Linked DNA regions of Homo sapiens: region 2 is linked to region 1. The links are contacts of gene promoters, found by promoter capture Hi-C in human tissues and cell types (Jung and others, 2019). All regions are on one chromosome and are shown on one strand. The core of a region is centred on a gene start or on the middle of the fragment in contact, and the rest is flanking DNA. Distances in the headings are between cores, read along the strand shown.

Region 1 (5,549 bases), core at 2,700-5,199:
CAAGCTTTTCTGCCATTTGAAGCTTCTTCTGGGAGCCAGCTGTGACCAGAGGAATAGCTCCAGCCATCCGGGTGAGTTGGATAGCAGCTGTGCCCACACCACTCAGTCCTGCATGGATTAGCACATAGTCTCCAGCCTGAACATTTCCTGTGACAGAAAGTACAGGGTTCTCTTTACTTTGCAACTGCTACACATTCCCCACACAGGCATATTCTATCAAGATCACCTGGCCGTTGCACCAAATGCCAAATCAATCTTTTGCTTTTCCTTTTTTATTTGGTGGGGTGGGGGTGGGCTGGTGGGGGTGGGACGCTGTGACTCAAATACAAACCATCTTGTTCTTTGGAGAAAGAAAAAGAGCATATTGACGACCTTTTCTGTCTTATTGCCTCTGGCTAAAGTGGAAAACAGCCTTTTGAAACAGGGCTATAAGCAGCCACATCCATAATCTCTATTTTACCTATAACACCAAAATGCACATCTCTGACCTACACCTGAATAAGTAAGAACAACTACCATTCCCATGGTCACCACCGAAAGCCAGTCCTTCTAGAGTCTGAAACTGGCCTCCAGCTGGTCTTCCTGATCCAGGCAACACACAGCCACCAGGCTCCTCTTCCTAAGATGGCACTTGCATTATGTTACTTCCTCCTCAAAATGTAAAGTGCTTCTCCATTGGCTTTTGCATTGAGTCCAGACAGCTTGATATTCAAGGACACCATGATCTGGCTCCAGCCTCATTTTTCACAAATCACAATAGTCATCCTTCACTACTGAGTGCAGTGGCTGGTCTCACCTTGATACTGTTTTTTTTTTTTTTTTGAGACGGAGTCTCACTCTGTCACCCAGGCTGGAGTGCAGTGGCGCAATCTTGGCTCACTGCAAGCTCTGCCCCACCCCCCCTGCGTTCATGCCATTCTCTTGCCTCAGCTTCCTGAGTAGCTGGGACTACAGGTGCCCACCACCACGCCCAGCTAATTTTTTGTATTTTTAGTAGAGATGAAGTTTCACCGTGTTAGCCAGGATGGTCTCGATCTCCTGACCTCATGATCCACCCACCTCAGCCGCCCAAAGTGCTGGGATTACAGGCGTGAGCCACCACGCCCAGCCTACTCTTTCTTTTTCTTTGAGACAGAGTCTCACTCTACTGCCCAGGCTGGAGTGCAGTGGCATGATCATGGCTCACTGCAGCCTTGACCTTCCTGGGCTCAGGTGATCCTCCCAACTCAGCCTCCTGAGTAACTGAGACAACAGGCATGCACCATCATGCCTGGTTAATTTTTGTATTTTTTGTAGAAACAGGGTTTCGCCATGTTGCCCAGGCTGATCTTGAACTCCTGGGCTCGTGATCTGTCTTCCAAAGTGCTACGATTATAGGTGTGAGCCACCTTGCCTGGCTGATACTCTTTCTTAGGCCACCTTGGCATGCCTTATGTCCTTCACAAGTCTACCCACCCTTCAAAGCCTTCCAAAAAGCCTTCTGACTACCCTTGTCCACACCATCTTTACTCATCTCCAGCTTCTATCATAGACAGGGCTATCCTTCTAAACTCTATGGTCATCTGATCTTATGCATATGTTGCCTTCTCAGTTACACTGCACTGTCTAAAGGCAAGGACCAAGTCTTCTTAGATTCCCTTATGTGAGTTCTTGACTGGCCTCTGTGGGATTGAGGAGGAATAAATGAGTCAATTGGTCCCTTCTGTTGCACTGGGACCCCAGAGAGAAGCTCAGTATGATTCTAAGAAGCTGGGACTTCTGCTGGGCGTCCGGTGTTAACATGTACATAGGCCTCCTATCTAGTGTTATCCAGACCCTCTATCTGCTAACCATGATTCTCAGCCTCAACATTAAACCCTTCTAACATGGTTTGAGGACCTGACAATACAGGTGATACAGGAAGGCCTGGGAGTGCCCTGGGGGATTGCTGGGATTCAAGTTGGCTGATTTATGAAGGTGTTGAGCCACATTGTGTGGAGTGAGCATGGAGGCCTCCTCACCCACAAGATGTAACAGCTGGAAGGCGGTGAGCCAGGCCTCTGGGATGGCTGCAGCCTGGGTCAGGGTCAATCCCTCTGGGATAGGCATGAGGAGCCCTTCGGGGACAGTGACGTACTGAGCCTGGCCCCCACCGGGGAGCAGAGCCATGGCTGTGTCCCCGATCTTCCAGTGTCCCTGGCAGCCAGGCCCCAGCTCTGCCACATGTCCAGATGCCTCAAGTCCCAAAATGTTGCTGGCTCCTGGAGGTGGGTCATACTGGCCTTGTCTCTGCAGAGAAAGAAGTGCACTAAGTGGTGAGCATGATCAGAAATCTGTATGTCACTACCCCTGGCCCCCCTTCCAAGATCCCCTCTTTTTTTTTTCAAAAATAAATTTCAGAATGAAGTCAGGTTTTTGTAAGTAAGGAGAAGAAAAAGGAGAGGCCATTAGTTTTATGCAAATAAACTGGAGGTCACATGATCAGTGGATGTTATAACTGGTAGAGTCCTTAGCTATTTACCTCATCTGAACCCCTTGCTTTACAGATGGAGAAACTGAGTCCCAGACGGGAAATAATAGTAGTGGGATTAGGAACCTTGACGATGGTTCCCATGCATCAAGCGCTAGGCTCTGTGCTCACTCACCCCAGTCCTCAGAAGCTGTAGAGCAGAGGGACTTAACCAGGAGTGTGTGGCAGAACCACCTGAGGAGTATTTCAAAGTACACGTGCCTGGGCCCCCATCACGTTTCTTTTGTGCCCCGGGGGATTCTGATGCACATTTCTGAATGACCCCAACCAATGCAGCTGGCCCAGGTCAGTAAATCAGCATCAGACAGAAGAAAATTCTTAAGAGTACTGCCCGCTGTCAGCTCCGGGACTCTCAGAGTGGAAAGAGTTAAGAGGTCTTTGGAGCCACAAAGACCTCAGCTTGAATCCCAGCTCTTCTGATTGCTAGTGTCACGGCCTTGGGCGTACTGCTTAACCTCACTGAACTTCAGTTTCCTTATCTGTAGAATTAAGATGGCGAACAGGGTAGCCTGGGGAGTAAGTGTGCCCACACCCCACAACAATGTTAGTTCCGCCCTCATCTGGAGGCCTGAGTGGCTATGGATTAGCTCGGGGTGGATTCTGCTTTACAAGTACTCCCCCTTGTTTTGCATGAACAAAGAGGGCGCCCTGGGTTTAGGTCTGGGAAGCCCCAGCGCAGCTGCCTGCTGGGTGTGGAGCGGTGCACGCCTTCACGTCTGGTCAATGTCCACTGAGTGCTGTTGAGAGGGAGGCTCTGGAGTCCCGCCCGCCCCGGCGCGGCTGAGCCCTGGGTACCTGCATTAAGTCCGCCCGGTTCAGGGCGCTGGCCGCCACCTTCAGGAGGACTTCACCCTCCCCCGGGCTCGGCTTGGCCACCTCCTTCACGTAGAGGTTTTCCGGTCCTCCCGGCTTGTCAAAGTGCACGGCTAACATATTGTCTGAGGACACAGGGCAGGGCAGGGCAGGACAGGACAGGGCAGGGCAGGGCAGGACAGGACAGGGCAGGGCAGGACAGGACAGGGCAGGGGCCGCTGTATCCTCGCGGAGCAGCCCAGCCTCAGGCTGGCACCGCAGCGCCCCCTGCCGGCCAGCGCCTCGCTGCCCTGGTCTGCCGCGGACCCGGCCTCCGCCCCGAGCTCCTGCCTGGGAAGTCCTCGGCCGCCTCCAGACCGATCCCACCCGGAACACAGATGGGAACGGCGGGAAGTGGGATGGCGGTACAGGGCTGGATGCGGCAGAGCAGGACAACGCCGAAGAGGATCAGGCAAATCACACTCCCTCTGAGTTGGAAGCCCCCAGCCCGACCCGGGTCCCCGGCGCCCGTATGAGTTACTTACTCCTGGCCCGGCTCCCCTCCCATGCACCAGGCGGCGCCGAGTGGTTCTGGCTCCTGCGGGTCCCGGTGACAAAGCCCGAGCCCCAGAGCCCCAGGACTGCCTCTGCCTCCACCGGAATGGACGGCTGGACCTGGGGTAGCCGGAGGGGTGGGGCTAAGCAGAACCACCCTCCCCCTCTTTCCTTTCCTCCTTCCCCCTTTAAAACGCAAAGTTAGAAGCAAGCAAATCAGATTTTCTTGTCCTTTTAGCCTCTGGAAAAGAGTCTTTCTCTCAGCTTGACAGAAAGTGCGATTCTAGCTCTCACTTCAAGGAGAGGAAACTTCCTTCTCTCTAGGGAACGAGACCCAACCTCTTGGCGGGCGGATTGGTCCATTTTCCAGGCATGGCCAGGCTTTTGGCACATTTATGTAACAGGCTGGCATCCCGCCCATCTTGAGCATGGGTGGGCAAGCTGGGTGCTGCTAAGAGAAGAGAAAGGAGCCGTTGGGAGTGGGGGTGGGGAAGGAAGGCAAAACGCAGTCCTGGGATCCTTATCACTCGCCTCCTCCTGACAGTCCTGGGGGAGAGGTTCAGCCCCAGGAGAAGGATGCTGGCGATTGGGTAAAAGCTGTATCCGTAAGCTACATGAAGGTTTCTCAATCTCGGCGCTATTGACATTTTGGACTAGCTAGTTCGTTATTGTAGGAGATCGTCCTGTGCATCGTAGGATGTTTAGCAGCATCCCTGGCCTCCCCCCACTACATATCCGTAGCACTCCTTGTAAATTCCTGTTTTAGTAAGAACCTCCCATCCTTGACATCTGATCACCCTCAATATCTCATCCTCCACCATCCCCCAAGTGATATCCGACCACCCTGGCCTGTCTTCAGTGAGAATCCTGTTAGGTCAGTTTAGATAGAATCCCCCTTACCCCTGATGCCTCTTACCAATTTTCCATCCACTGACCCCCTACACTGCTCCTTGGCTATACATTCCCACTTGTCCGTGATGCATTCAGAGTTGATCCCAACCTGTCTCCTCCACTGCAAGAACTCATTGCAGTGGTCCCTAAACCTGTAGCGATGGTGCTAAATAAAGTCTTCCTTAATGTGCTTTAACAAGTATCATTGAATAATTATTTCTTTAACACAACAGAGCAAAAGCCTATAGAGATGGAAATAATAAAATGATGGGACTTAAGGAAAAATTCAGGAGACCCTGCTATGAGAATAACAGGAATTTTAGGCCGGGCGCGGTGGCTCACGCCTGTAATCCCAGAACTTTGGGAGGCCAAGGCGGGCGGATCACGAGGTCAGGAGATCGAGACCATCCTGGCTAACACGGTGAAACCCCGTCTCTACTAAAAATACAAAAAATTAGCCGGGCGTGGTGGCGGGCGCCTGTAGTCCCAGCTATTCGGGAGGCTGAGGCAGGAGAATGGCGTGAACCCGGGAGGGGGAGCTTGCAGTGAGCCGAGATCGCACCACTGCACTCCAGCCTGGACGACAGAGTGAGACTCCGTCTCAAAAAAAAAAAAAAAAAAGGAATTTTAGAAGGAGGAAGAGGAATGGATGAAGAAGATTCAATAGTTAACCAAATAAAAGAATACAGTTTTCCTAAATTCTACCAGATTATACGGATTGAAAACATTCACTAAAGGATGGATTCATAAGAACAAAAATGCATGCCTATATTTTATAAAATTTCAGGTTCTAACAAGTGTG
Region 2 (4,823 bases), core at 931-3,430, 180 kb after region 1:
CAAAGTATTTCAATGCTGCAAAATGCTCAGCATTGTACCTGATTTAAATGTATTGTCTTGGACATGGATGACGCTGAAAACCATCATTCCCAGCAAACTAACACAGAAACAGAAAACCAAACACCACATGTTCTCACTCACAAGTGGGAGTTGAACAATGAGAACACATGGACACAGGGAGGGGAACATCACACAGCGGGACCTGTCAGGGGGTGGGGGACTAGGGGAGGAAAGCATTAGGAGAAATACCTAACGTAGATGACAGGTTGATGGGTGCAGCAAACCACCATGGCACATGTATACCTATGTAACAAACCTGCACGTTCTGCACATGTATCCCAGAACTTAAAGTATAAAAAAAAAAAAAAAGTATGGTCTTAAGGAAAGGAATCACCGTAAGCTATGAGTATTGGCTATATATAGGTACACATATGTACATACATACATACACACACACACATTTACCACATTTACTTACATGCCCTTCCTACTTTCCTTTCTACCTCCCTTCACTGACGGACTTGGCTGGCTGGCTGACTTTTCAGACAGGGTCTTACTCTGTCACCCAGGCTACTAGAGTGCAGTGGTGCAATCACAGCTCACTGTAGCCTTGACCTCCTGGGCTCAAGTGATTCTGCCACCTCAGTCTCCACAGCAGGTGGGACTACAGGTGCACACCACCAAGCCCCGCTAATTTTTTTTTACTTTTTGTAGAAACAGGGTCTTCCTATGTTGCCCAGGCTGGTCTCTAACGCCAGTACCTACGTGATACTCCTGCCTCGGCCTCTCAAAGTGCTGGGATTATGGGTGTGCACCTGCACCTGGCCAAAAGCTTTTAAAAGTATTAATTTCTAGATACACTTTTTCCTAGTGTTTTCAACCTAATCAAGAAGAAAAATCTCGTTCATTTATTCTGTAGTTAGGCCAAGTTGTTTTAGTAAGAGGTCAATTTTAATCTCTTTCACATCTGTCATTTATAGTTGTAATTAATTTTTAGTTGTTAATTTACATACTGAGTTAAACTGAACATTTTATATAAATTCTCACAGGCCTAGCAAAACTACTTATTACTTCTTCTTAACTACTTATTAATTAATGTTAGCAAAATAGCATTAACAGATTAGAAGGCTAGAAAAACATTTCAGCTTGTCATCGAAAATGTGGCCAAGACTCAGTGGAATTTCTAATCCTTTTCACTTTCAATGAAACCTCCGGTAACACCCTCATCCATTAAGTTGATCAGACCTTGCCTCCTATCTTACCGGGAATTTGGAAGTCCTGGGACCTGACTTCATCTTCTACTTCAGCAAAATTTACTTTAATCCCTCCCACCCTTTCTTCCTGCCCTCTAATGACAAAGGATAAGGTATTCAATCCTTCTACCACTCTCTTCCAGGGCTCCAGATTCCAGCCTTCTAGCCTTTTCAAGAATCTTCCTCATCTCCATCTATTAGTCAGAACAGGGAGGTTTGACAAGGAACATGAAGTGCCTTCCTGATGCTGTACGTTCTACACACTGATCTGAGGGGGGCTTCACAGATACACAGATGTGTACACATTCTTTGAGCTGTATACTTATGGTTGTACACTTTGCTATATATAAATTATACTTTAATAAGAAAAAACAATCTTTATCAGTTATTTATACTCTTTCCATTATCATTAACCTGTTTCCTCTCTGCAGATCCTTTCTACTATTATTTAAACTTGCTCAAGCTTCAGCCAACTTTAAAAAAAAAAAAAACTTCCCTCAACCCACATTTCTCATTATTTACTACCTTCTCTCCTTCTCCCTTTCAAAGCCAAGCTCATTCAAAGAGTTTTATATATTCACTGTCTCCTCTTCCTCTCTTCCAATTTATTCCAACTCACTGAAATCTGGCTTCTCGCTCTACTAGTCCACTTAACTGATACTGCTGTCCTCAAGTTAACAACACCTGTGCTATTGCTAATCTAATAATTTTTTTAGTCCTTGTTTTATTTCACTTGCAGATCACTCTTCTCAAAGTTCCCTAACATTAAACTCTCCTGTTTTTTTTTTTTTCCTACTACTAGTCACTCCTTTTAAGGCTCCACTTCCTCTAATAATTCCTTCAGTGTCCATGTTTCTCAGGAACTGCATCCTCAATCCTCTTCTCTCTCACGTTACTACTCCCCTGGATGAGCTCCATTACTCTCATGTCTTCCAACACCATCACATCACACTGGCGACATCCAGATTTACATCCTCAGCCCAGACCGCTGCCTGACATCTCTCTAGGTACTCTGGAGATCCAACTACTACTGCCTGGACATCTGAAACTCATACAAAACTGAACTCATAATTCTACTTATATATTCCCCCTCTGATTTTCCCTCTTAGGAAATGACACCATCATTAACCAATTTGTTCAAATCAGGCAACTCATGACTGACAGTAGTAACTCATGACTAATACTTCATGTTAATGATTCAGCAGAGTACACAAGCACCCAAGACACACAGCTAACTTTATGTTTCTGTTGTCACTGCCACCAGAATGGCTCTCTGACCATGGGAGAGGTCTGTGCTAAAGCTGGTAGCAGTCTACAACCTTTTCCTTACCTTCCTTCCTCTACTGCTTTAGGTTGTCACGCTTTTTCATTAGCCTACAAGCGTGTTAAGAGCAGAGATAATGTCTTATTCACTAAATCCCTAGTCTAACATAGTCAGCCCTCAAAAAATATTTGTTGAAATAAATAAAAAATATAACCAAAAATATAAGTAAACTCTTGACCAAACACGCCCAGAGATTGGTTGTATCTCTTCATCCAGACACCATCACCAACAAGGAGAGGAGGAATGGTAGGAAGAGCAGACAGTGGACTTGGGCTGGTTGTAGAACAAACCTCTCCCCCTGCTCGGGCACAGCTCCGGTACTACTAATAGCGGCAATGGCAAGAGCAGGAATGTGTGTTTAGGGTTTATCTTGGGTGCTAGCGTTTTGGTAAATTTTTTTCCCTAGTATCATTAAACATTTGCCACCTAACTGATAAATCACACTAACTGGTGACAGTGCAGGGGGAGCGGGGGAAAGAGGCACTGGCTAGATACTCTGGCTAGATACTCTGGTTAACATTAGTTTAACAAGAAGAAAACAGAAGCAGAGACTAAAATCCAAGTTTGTGTGCTTCTAAAGCCTGTACTCTTTCCATTATGTCCTACTGGCTCTATCAAACACTACTCCTGGGATCTTCTCTTATTCATGTATTTTATATGGATTGTGATAACACAATAAAGACTTTCGTTCCAAGGAACAAATTGCCTGTATCCAGTTAGGGCTGTGGAATCTAACTCCTTCAATTCTTTTAACAGTTGCTGTATGGCATAGCAGAAACAACGCTGGATTTGGAAATAAAAAAACACATAACTGCATCCCATTCTGGCACTGCAATGCTGACAGTTACAACTTGTGTGAGTTTAAGCTTCCTTGGCTAGAACTTAGTTAGTAATAATAACTGTCCTATGCAGCTCTGAAGTATGTTGTAAAGTCCAAATGAGGTAATGTTTAAGAAACATTTTACAAAGGTAAATATATGAAATTAATGGTCAACATTACTACAGAAACTAATATATTACAATGTATTTAGGTTATTCATGATTAAAAAAAAAATTCATTTCCTACCTGAATTATATCTCCAGAATTAAAACTCATCTCATCATGGTTCCTTGCTTCAAAGGGGTATAATGCTCTATAATTCACCAAAACACTAGCTGTCTCACCTAAAGAGAAGACAATTGTCATTATTTGCAACTTACATGTATACATCTTTGCTATGACTCAATAAAGAGCTCTAAAACCTAAAAGAAAAAATCAAGCACCAAATACTACAATGAAAATCCACTTGATACAGACTTGCTAGGATTTCAGTATCTTGACTAGTCATCTAATAAAAAAGCAAACAAGGATGCTCATCTTAAGTAAGGTAGGAGGCAGCAAAACAAAGAGATGACTTGCGGGATGAAGCACACACATGGGTAGAAAGGAAAGTGCAGGAGTGGGGGCCAGGCTGAGCTGTACAAAGTGGAAGGAGACCAAGCAAAGAGAGGCTTGGTTTGATCTGTGGAGGTCTGAATATAACAGGGAAGTAAAGGACAAAAAGGGGGGTCTCAAAAGATAAGAATAGCAAGTTAACAGGGATGGCTGAAGAAAAATCTATACATCTATCAGAATGGTTCTAAAAGGAAAACAGTGGAAGAGTACACAAATATACTGAATTTGATAAGAATAAAATTGTTTACTTTGTTCATCTTTAGAATGTTTTAACTTATAAAATTTCAACAAACTGTATCATTAATAATGATTCAAAGGGTTCATGTATCTAAAAGAGATACAATACTACTAAAAGTATTGTGGAAATGGACTGAGGTGTATCAAAATTTTACTGTTGTTTCATTAAAATAAATAGCTTAGTTATAGTGGTTGAATAAAATATTTAAAACTATTTTACTTCAATTATGAAAACCATGTCTGAGTCTTTTCACAATCAGTAGTAACTATCTTCTTTTCTCCTGCTGTGCTAAGATTTCTACTGCTGTGTTAAGATTTCAGTCTGTTTTAATAAGCCTACTGCTTTTTATCCAAGTTTAATTTATAAAAAGGTTTTTTCTGACTCTACAATTAGTATCTTTCTAATTTTCTTCCCTTTTTTTGTCTCTTATCAGGTCATTTTTTTCTTGTTGCATTTGTTCTACTGTCTCAAAGTATCCTTATCCTTACGTTTTTTCTCCTCAGCTTTCAAAGTATCCTTATCCTTACGTTGTTTCTCCTCAGCTTTCCGTTCCTCTTCTTGAATTTTTTCTTG

Evidence for each region. Contacts are between HindIII fragments. The study calls those that stand out against the background at their distance.
Region 2: a fragment that was not itself captured here is called in contact with the fragment with the promoter of TP53I3 in region 1 in 1 of the 25 tissues and cell types used here (mesendoderm cells).

The regions. Positions count from the first base shown.
Region 1 is chr2:24,080,885-24,086,433 of GRCh38, forward strand. It overlaps TP53I3 (tumor protein p53 inducible protein 3), which reads right to left and starts at 3,950. Exons shown (of 5, transcript NM_004881.5): 1 at 3,305-3,950; 2 at 2,001-2,268; 3 at 1-147. The coding sequence starts at 3,442. It also overlaps a transcript of FAM228B not described here. RefSeq lists enhancers at 1,662-2,592, 3,188-3,287, 3,438-3,487, 4,235-4,735 and a silencer at 3,498-3,677. The HindIII fragment of the contact is 16,390 bases long and covers 1-5,549 here.
Region 2 is chr2:24,267,028-24,271,850 of GRCh38, forward strand. It overlaps ITSN2 (intersectin 2), which reads right to left. Exons shown (of 40, transcript NM_006277.3): 19 at 4,739-4,823; 20 at 3,644-3,741. Among named protein-coding and RNA genes, the nearest start is that of ITSN2, 91 kb to the right of the region's middle. The HindIII fragment of the contact is 4,180 bases long and covers 91-4,270 here.